Linked DNA regions of Homo sapiens: region 1 is linked to region 2. Evidence: promoter capture Hi-C in 16 types of primary human blood cells and fetal thymus (Javierre and others, 2016). All regions are on one chromosome and are shown on one strand. Each heading gives the region's core, a stretch centred on a gene start or on the middle of the fragment in contact. The rest is flanking DNA. Distances are from core to core; before and after follow the strand shown.

The links. Contacts are between HindIII fragments. The CHiCAGO score rates a contact against its expected background, and 5 or more counts as called.
Region 1: a contact is called between a fragment that was not itself captured here and the fragment with the promoter of GRPR in region 2, in 2 of 17 cell types (total CD4 T cells and activated CD4 T cells). The highest score is 7.5, in total CD4 T cells.

Annotation. Positions count from the first base shown.
Region 1 is chrX:16,641,425-16,646,442 of GRCh38, forward strand. All of the region lies in intron 13 of CTPS2 (CTP synthase 2), which reads right to left. Among named protein-coding and RNA genes, the nearest start is that of S100G, 6.2 kb to the right of the region's middle. The HindIII fragment of the contact is 2,676 bases long and covers 1,618-4,293 here.
Region 2 is chrX:16,120,834-16,125,443 of GRCh38, forward strand. It overlaps GRPR (gastrin releasing peptide receptor), which reads left to right and starts at 2,732. Exons shown (of 3, transcript NM_005314.3): 1 at 2,732-3,533. The coding sequence starts at 3,121. RefSeq lists an enhancer at 2,433-2,727. The HindIII fragment of the contact is 8,500 bases long and covers 1,779-4,610 here.

The DNA of each region.
Region 1 (5,018 bases), core at 1,706-4,205, 520 kb after region 2:
AGCATTGAGATTAGAGTAAAATTAGCCAACTAAGAACAGGAGGCCAGGTGCAGTGGCTCACGCCTGCAATCCCAACCCTTTGGGAGACCAAGGCAGACAGATCACTGGAGCCAGAAGTTCGAGACCAGCCTGGACAATATGGTCTCTACAAAAAATACAAAAATTAGCTGGGTGTGGTGGCACAGGCTGCAGTCCCAGCTATTCAGGAGGCTGAGGTGGAAAGATTGCTAGAGCCTAGGAGGCGGAGGTTGCAGTGAGCTATGATCACACCACTGCACTCCAGCCTGGATGACAGAGCAAGACCTTGTCTCAAAAATGTAAACAAAAGAAAAGAAAAAGAACAGGAAATCTGCCTTACTGCTTACTTGGGATGAACTTGACAAACACTTGAAGACCAGAAAATATTTCCAAAAGTCAAGTGTAGGGGTGGGAGGTGGGGAGAGAAGGAAAATGCAGTGGGCATAGGGGCTGCCTAAGAGCATTAAAAACTCCTTCAACAAAGCGGGAGAAGTCTAAAAAGTCCTCAAAGAATACTATGAGATTATTTAGCAACATGGAGACAAACACAGAGAAAGAGCTAGAAGAAGCTAAAGAGTGGTACAGAGGGAGTGAGGATTAATGACTTTGTCATTATAGGCTTTTCAGAACTGTTGGCTTTTTAAACTTTGCACATCGTATTTTACTAATGAAAATACAAGTTTAAGTCATCAAGAGTAAAATGTAGTATTTAGGCCTTACACTAGGGTATTAGTTCACATTATCCCTGCTGTTTTCAGAAGTAATAAACGCTACCTTCTCCTGAAATGATAGCACAGAAAGAAAATCCAAGGTATAAATGCCACTGTGATCCTCTGATTAAAACATGCTAGCGTAGGAACCAGTGGAGAAGGCAAAAAATGCTAGAGAAGAGGTGGGAAGCAGGTGAAAATAGGTCTCCAGTACCAAATGTTGCCCTGAACATCAGTGAAAGGAGAAAAGCAGGGAGAGAATTGACAGGCAAGTCGCTGATGGAGGGAGGGAACAGGAAGGTTCTGTGTGGGCCTAGCTTAGGAGATCTCATCTGGGAATCACCATCACATACTCAGGCAAAGAACGCTGCCAGGCACCAGCTGGTGGAACCCCAACACTCAGGAAGCGGAAGGTCAGGGCAAGGCAGAGACTATGGTGCCCAAGCCTGACACACCAGCTGCCTTGCAGAGTTATCAGATGATCCTACAAGCTGGATCCTACAAGATGATGATGGCTGGCTGCCTCTTGGGTTATAAGCAACCTGATTCAGCAGCAAAAATTAACAAAAATGTCTTTGTTCCTTGCATTCCTTCCACTAAAAGCCTGAGAGACAGGAGAACATCACAGTTTCAAAACATATCTATTTTATTGTTACTGGGGTGGTTAAAGAAAATAATCTCAAATATGCTTTAGATTTAACACCAACATTTCCAAAATACTCTAGATTTTTGCATCTGAAAGGAAAACGCATCTTCCATTGCAAAAGGATTGCCTTTGCTTCCTCTAATTCAGCCTAAATACTGGCTGTCATCTGATCCCCAGATTTGTCCTCTCTTGGAACTGAGCCATATAGTATGAGAAAAATAAAAAAGGATCAATAAGTGATAAAGCTTTAGGAGATGTAAAATCAGCATGTAAGGATAAATATGGCACTAATTAACCTTTACTGATGTTTTCTGCAGCCCATAATAAAAGTGTAATGAGTTCAAGACTTTACAGCATCCCAGGTGCCTTAAACAACAAAGTCTACAGGAGTTAGGTTCTCTTAGCAACAGTGAAATTCCTGACTGGACCTACCTGACCTACCCTGGTAAGCCCAGCTTTCCTTTTGTTCCTCATCGTTGAATATTTCACCTGGAGACAAAGGGAAAGCCTACTCACCAGCAGCTATTTCTATTTCCAGACTCTTAGGCAACATACAGCAATTTCCTCTAGCATTTTTTTTTTCCACTTTGTAGCATCGGGGTTTCATCATGTTGCCCAGGCTGGTCTTGAATTCCTGGGCTGAAGCAATCCGCCCACCTCAGCCTCCCAAAGTGCTGGGATTATAGGCATGAGCCACCACGCCCGGCCTCCTCTAGTATTCTTTACAAGTATTCTCCAATTCATTCCTTTCCTACTGCTCATTAGGTTTTCAAGCCTGATTCTGATTTTGATTCTAAGTCATATTCAAATTGTACATAAAGTATCAAGCAGTTTTACATCAGCATTACTTTCCCTAATGTTGGGTTGCACTGCTAGCTCCAGCAGCCTCCATCACTACAGACTAAACCTAAACTCTTCTGGGTGGCTCTCAGGTCCTACCTCACACAGGAGCCCAGACTAGCCATGCCCTCCTCATGTATTCGAACCTGTAGCTTCTACCACAGCTAGCTGGGGCCATTGTCAATGGCACCTCCACTCTCCTACCCACCACCATACTACACACAGACCACCTCCTTCTCTACTTTTCCCAAGATACCTTCTCCCTCCCATTCCTCATGCTTTAGGGGCCCCCTCCAGTTCCCCTTACTGCCTCATAATTAATGCCATTGTTATGCTCAGCCTACCAAATAAATAACCTATACATCATCAATTCATTTTCAGTAACTCATAGTAGGAGACTGAATAATGCCTCCCCTACCCTAAAGATATCCGCATCCTAGTCCCTGAAACCTATGAATCTGTGGCAAAAGGGACTTTGCAGATGTGATTAAGTTGAGGATCTTTTTTTTTTTTTGAGACAGGATCTCACTCTGTCTCCAAGGCTGGGGTGCAGTGGCATGATCATAGCTCATTACAGCCTCTGACTCCTGGCTTCAAGTGATCCTCCCACCTCAGCCTTCCAAGTAGCTGGGGCCACAGGTGCATGCCACCATGCCCGGCTAATTTTTTGGTATTTTTTTGTAGAGATGGGGTTTCGCCATGTTGCCCAGGCTGGTCTGGAACTCCTGGCTTCAAATGATCCTCCAGCCTTGGCCTCCCAAAGTTCTGGGATTACAGGAATTAGCCACCATGCCCAGCCTGTAAATTGAGGCTCTTGAGAAGGGAAGATTCTGGATTATCAGGGTGGGCCCATTGTAACCACAAAGGCTCTTAAAACAGGAAGGCAGGAGGGTCAGGGTCAGAAAAGGGGATATGACCACAAAGCAGAGATCAGAGAGACTGGAAGATGCTATGCTGCTGGCTTTGAAGATGGAGGATGGCCGTGGGCAAGTGGCCTCTAGAAGCTGGAAAAAGCAAGGAAATGGATTCTCTCGTACACCCTCCAGAAGGAACACTGCCCTGCCAACCCACTTTATATCTCTGACTTCCAGAAGAAATGTATATGTGTTTTAAGCCACTGTGTTTGTGGTAATTTGTTACAACAGCCATAGGAATCTAATACCGTTATTTACTACAAACAGCTTTAACTTCCTCTATTATTTCATAAATGCATCTCCTCTCATAAATTAAGTGTAGGCTCATCAAGCACAAGGATTAGATCTTTTTATTTTCCATCTCCACTGAGGAGTTCGACACAGTGTCAAGTTCAGATCAAGTACTCAATAATGGAATCTCTCAGTGTTTTTTGTTTTTTGTTTTTTTGAGACGGAGTCTTGCTCTGTCGCCCAGGCTGGAGTGCAGTGGCACGATCTCGGCTCACTGCAAGCTCCGCCTCCCGGGTTCACGCCATTCTCCTGCCTCAGCCTCCTGAGTAGCTGGGACTACAGGCGCCCGCCACCATGCCCGGCTAACTTTTTTTTTTTTTTTTGTATTTTTAGTAGAGACGGGGTTTCACCGTGTTAGCCAGGATGGTCTCGATCTCCTGACCCTGTGAACCACACGCCTCAGCCTCCCAAAGTGCTAGGATTACAGGCATGAGCCACTGTACCCGGCCTGGAATCTCACAGTGTTTTAAGTGTATTAAAAACTAACAGGGGAGACTAAGGGATGGGTCAGTGGGCCACAGAGTAGCAGAGGGGTGTCTGAGATACTCATGGATGTCCCAAGTTGCAGGTGAGTCTCTTCAGCAGACGGGAAGGGAGGGGTGGTGCCCTACTCAGAGGCCGAGTACACACTATGCCCAGTCCTGCCTGACAGAGTCCTGCCTCTAACCTGAAGCAGTTTATTTCCCATTTCTGGCTTCCAACCTGCGCTGCTGTGTCACCAAGTAGTGTGAGAATGGAATCTACAATGAGGAAATCAATGAGCAGTCCCATAAGTACGTATGTATTTTTCCAGTCTTTTAAACTTGTTTTTTTCCCCACCAGTAAAAGAAAGCTGCTATGGTTTGAATGCATTCCCCAAAGTTGATGTGTTGCAAGCTTAATCCTCAGTGCAACAGTGTTGAGAGGTGGAATCTTTAAGAAGCAATTAAGTTATAAGGGCTCTGCCCCCATGAATGGATTAATGCCATTATCATTGGAATGGGTTAGTTATCATGGGAATGGGTTCCTGGTAAAAGGATGAGTTCAGTCCCCTTCCCTCTCTCTCACCCATGTGATGCCTTCTACCACATGATGACACAGCAAGAAGGCCCTCACCAGATGCCAGCACCTTGATCTGGGACTTCCCAGCCACCCTCCAGAACTGTGAGGAAATAAATTTCTCTTCTTTATAAATTAGCCAGTCTCAGGTACTCTGTTATAGCAGTGCAAAACAGACAAAGGCCTATATCATTTTCATCAGGAAAAGAACTTTCTTACACCTCAGAAAAAGAACCTTCTTATACCTCCAGATGTAAACCTAACACTTAAGTGTGATACTACCTGTGGTCCTAATGTTAACATACAATGGTTGTCCTCAGAGAAGCCCTTCTCCTGGGAGGGGCATGTGGCACGGTGGTTGAGGGTGCAGGCTGGGCCTGAACTTGAATCCCAGCTCTACTGCTGACCAGCAGTGTGACCCTGAGCAGGTCCTTGGATGTCTCTACAGACTGGGGGGACCAACAGCATCCACTTCATAAAGTTGCAGCAAGGATTTAAGGAGGCCGTGGGAGTTGGGTGCCTAGGTCAGCACACTGCCCATAGTAAAGATACGCACTCAAG
Region 2 (4,610 bases), core at 1,482-3,981:
AGTTAATTAGTTGAAATGACATAGAAATTATGGAATTAGCTTTTTTTTTTTTTTTTTTTTTTTTGAGAGGGAGTCTTGCTCTGTCGCACAGGCTGGAGTGCAGTGGCACGATCTCGGCTCACTGCAAGCTCTGCCTCCTGGGTTCACGCCATTCTCCTGCCTCAGCCTCCCAAGTAGCTGGGACTACAGGTGCCCATCACCACGCTTGGTTAATTTTTTGTATTTTTAGTACAGACGGGGTTTCACTGTGTTAGCCAGGATGGTCTCGATCTCCTGACCTCATGATCCACCCGCCTCGGCCTCCCAAAGTGCTGGGATTACATGCGTGAGCCACCGCACCTGGCCCGAATTAGCTTTTTAAAGCATCCTTGATCCCCGAAAATATTAGATGTCAAACCTCAACGCACCTTTACTCCTAAAATACCATTAGAAGAATCTATAGTGCTGTGGAACACATAATGCTAACACCAGCTATGAGAAATCAATATCTATCAGCATCCCCTTAACTTACATTGGAAGAAACACTAACCACCCAATTAGATTTAAGTAGTGAGGCTGACTCAGCACACAGGGGTGTCTAAAGAAATAAAGGGAAACAACATCCAGAAGTTCTCTTTGTGAACCAAAAATATGCCTTTTAGACCAAACTTCTTAGCAAGAATACAAGATCCATCACAATCTCACCCAAACCTGCTTCTAGCTGCATTTCACGCTGTTCTTTTTCCACCCCTGTCTTCCAATCTGGGTGACCCTCTGGATTTATAGATGTCCCTCTGCTCAATGTCATGCTCTTTCCTTTATGCCTTGATCCTAGGCACATATGATTTTCTTCATTCAAAAGACCTTGTCAACACTTAACCTTTAAAGATATCGTCTTTTCTGGAGAAAAGGTAGTTGCTTCACTCCAGAGAGGGGTTGGGGTCTAAAGAGCTGTGAGAGTACACATCTTCATGCTATTTTTCTCAGCCTCTTGCTCAGTGCCTGGCAACTGGTAGATGTTTGATAAATTTTTTTCAAGTAAATAAAGGAGTTGCTAATTCACTCGTATGAGTGCTTGCCTATTGATCTGAGGTCAATCACTCTTCTGAACTCATTGGGCTTTTCCAAAGTAAGCCTTTCCCCCTCAATCTAATAATGATAATAATAATAAGTGCTAATATTAATTGAGCACTTACTATGTGCCAAATACTATGCAATCTTAACATGAATCATTTCATCTAACTTCATAAGTTCTCCTCACCCTGCAGATGAGGAACCTGAAGCTTAAGACACTAAGTAACTTGCCATAATTATAAATGAGGGAGCCAGGATTGAAGCAGAGCCTGTGTACTGTATCATTAAGCTATATTGCTGGCAACTAATCAACACCACTGGGCTCATGGCTATTGGCTGGTTACTGGTGCTACTGATCTCTGCCGAGAAGCTCTTCCACCTCTAGCCATGCAGCATCAGTCTCCCTCCTGCTGGCAGAGAGGGGCGCTGAGCCTTTCATATTTACATAGAAAGCATGGCAGCAGCCTCAGTGTTGGAACCTGCCACTGGAAATGTCCATAACAACACAGTTGGGGGCTTTCTTTGTGGGCCCTGGCATGGTAAGTGCAAGTTTTGTTATTCCTTATGGGTTCTGAAAAATGAGACTTCACCTGTTAGTGACTGGCTTCACGTCATGTACCTGGAGGAGCTGGCTTCACATACGTCATAAAGATGCACTCTAATAATGTATTTAGAAGTTGTTGGCTAAAGGTCTAAGCCTGATTCTAATAGCACTTCCTCAATTAAGCTTTTTCTAGCACTCCTTCAACGATAACTTACTTCTTTTACCACCCACTCAATTCCTCAGTATTGTATCTATCACGCTTTTATAGTTCTTTATTTTCCACACAGGGCTATAAAGAGGATATTTGCTATAAAACATGGCAAACATTCAATTAAAAATGCAAATAGCTGCATCAAAATGCCGATTCATAAAATTTTTAGATCAGATGAGAAAAGACCCATTTTTCTGGAAAAGACTATTGATCATTGAGAGTTAAGAATACAGCTGGTTCCCAATTTAATTTCTCCCTGGTAAACAGAATAGGAATGGCTTGGCAAATCTACAGGAAAGAACATGTGTGCATTGTGCTTCTGGCTTTTCCAGATGTCAGTTGCTGAAGGTTTAAGGTGTGAGTCTGTGCATGTGTTTCTGAGGATCAGTCCCTGTTCAAAGAGGCAGTGGGAAGACTGAGTGGGATAACTCACACATGGACACCCTGTGCATCAGTGTGCGTTTAATTCAAAGACAGACCTCATTTGATAGCAATATTGACATGTCATTCTAATGAATTAGAAAAAATGAGAAAATGGGATGTAAATCCCCATCTGGATTCATGGGGATAGTATCAGAAAGATTTTCAGTGCCTTTGCAGAATGCTAGCAACATTTATTAAATACCTACCCTAGGTGCTATGTGCTTACATGAGAAGCCAAAGGTATCTGTTAAGCTAGGTAGGAACTGCAGTCGGCTGGTTGCTTCTCATCTGGAGAAAGCAGGCAACTGGGCAGTGATTGAAGTGTCCAGCAGGGGGCTGGCATTCTCTGTCTATAAGTAACACTGGTTCCTCTTCAGAGCCTCAGCTCAGCGGAGCTGCCGTTTGCTGGTGAAGCCCGTGACGTGCAAAGCATCCTGCCTATAGGATTTGAGGATTTCTCAGTGCAGTTTTTTTCTACCCACTTTAAACCTCCAGATTCTAAATATCAGGAAAGACGCTGTGGGAAAATAGCAGGCCAAAAGTTCTTAGTAAACTGCAGCCAGGGAGACTCAGACTAGAATGGAGGTAGAAAGAACTGATGCAGAGTGGGTTTAATTCTAAGCCTTTTTGTGGCTAAGTTTTGTTGTTGTTAACTTATTGAATTTAGAGTTGTATTGCACTGGTCATGTGAAAGCCAGAGCAGCACCAGTGTCAAAATAGTGACAGAGAGTTTTGAATACCATAGTTAGTATATATGTACTCAGAGTATTTTTATTAAAGAAGGCAAAGAGCCCGGCATAGATCTTATCTTCATCTTCACTCGGTTGCAAAATCAATAGTTAAGAAATAGCATCTAAGGGAACTTTTAGGTGGGAAAAAAAATCTAGAGATGGCTCTAAATGACTGTTTCCTTCTGAACTTGGAGGTGGACCATTTCATGCACTGCAACATCTCCAGTCACAGTGCGGATCTCCCCGTGAACGATGACTGGTCCCACCCGGGGATCCTCTATGTCATCCCTGCAGTTTATGGGGTTATCATTCTGATAGGCCTCATTGGCAACATCACTTTGATCAAGATCTTCTGTACAGTCAAGTCCATGCGAAACGTTCCAAACCTGTTCATTTCCAGTCTGGCTTTGGGAGACCTGCTCCTCCTAATAACGTGTGCTCCAGTGGATGCCAGCAGGTACCTGGCTGACAGATGGCTATTTGGCAGGATTGGCTGCAAACTGATCCCCTTTATACAGCTTACCTCTGTTGGGGTGTCTGTCTTCACACTCACGGCGCTCTCGGCAGACAGGTAAGTACAGGCTGAAAGTTACATGCTCTCCAAGGGTGATAGACGCCTGGGTAAATGAACTACCATGTCGGGACAGGGAGCTGATTGCACAAGGGAAGTTTTACTCAAACACGGATTCCCTTCCAGGCAGGTTTTTATTCTGGGTATGACTTCTTGAGTGTAACATATTGGTTTAAGAAAGAAAAGTGAATGATGGGGACAGAAGGAGACAGATGAGAAAAAAAAAATCTCTAAGCAGAAAACTGAGGTGCCTTTTTCTGGAGACATATCTATTTAGCATTGCCTTTTCCTAACTTCTCCCTCCTTGCAAAATTAATTGACCAGTGAGAAAGACAATCACACCCAATAGAGTTTAAACCTCAGGCAAATGTTTTTTAGGAGCAATTGAAACCCCTCAGAGAACAGGAAAGTTCCACTGGATTTCTTCAAAACGTTCTTTCAGAAATAACCAAGAGGAGAAAATAAGCCTCATTTCTCTGAAATTCATTTTCCTCAGACAGTTTAACTTTTCTCACAGCTGATTTTGAATTTGACTCTCTGTGATAGAACAATTGTATGCCGGTTTTCCTAAGTCTCTCTTAAATGAAATCAAACATTATTTGAGTTTTTAAAATTTTCTGGAGAAAGCTCTATTCAAGGTTGATTTCTAATTTTAATATCTTTATTGACAATACTTCATATACCATGCTTTTGGGGCTTATTGTGGGGAGGAAGAGGGAGTTCACTACAGTTTTTTATTCTGGGAAATATACATATTTGCAAACTGCATTTCTTGTGTGAGCACATTGCATAAAAGTTTACGTTTATTCAGTCTTAAAACTATATATTCATTCTTTGAACATTTATCAAGTGTCTAGCATGTAAGAAACACTTACCTGAATTAGCAAGTCAAGAAATAGCTGCAGGTTGTTCACATAAATTACTGAACATACTTTATGTACTTCTGTGTTCTGGAAATTGGACATAGTAATGAATAGACTTTCAGACACAGCATAGACCATATGGTCAAACCCAGAAAAACTGCTGCAATGAACCTAGACTATAAATTTTTCACTTATAATCAACTGTATGTTATGT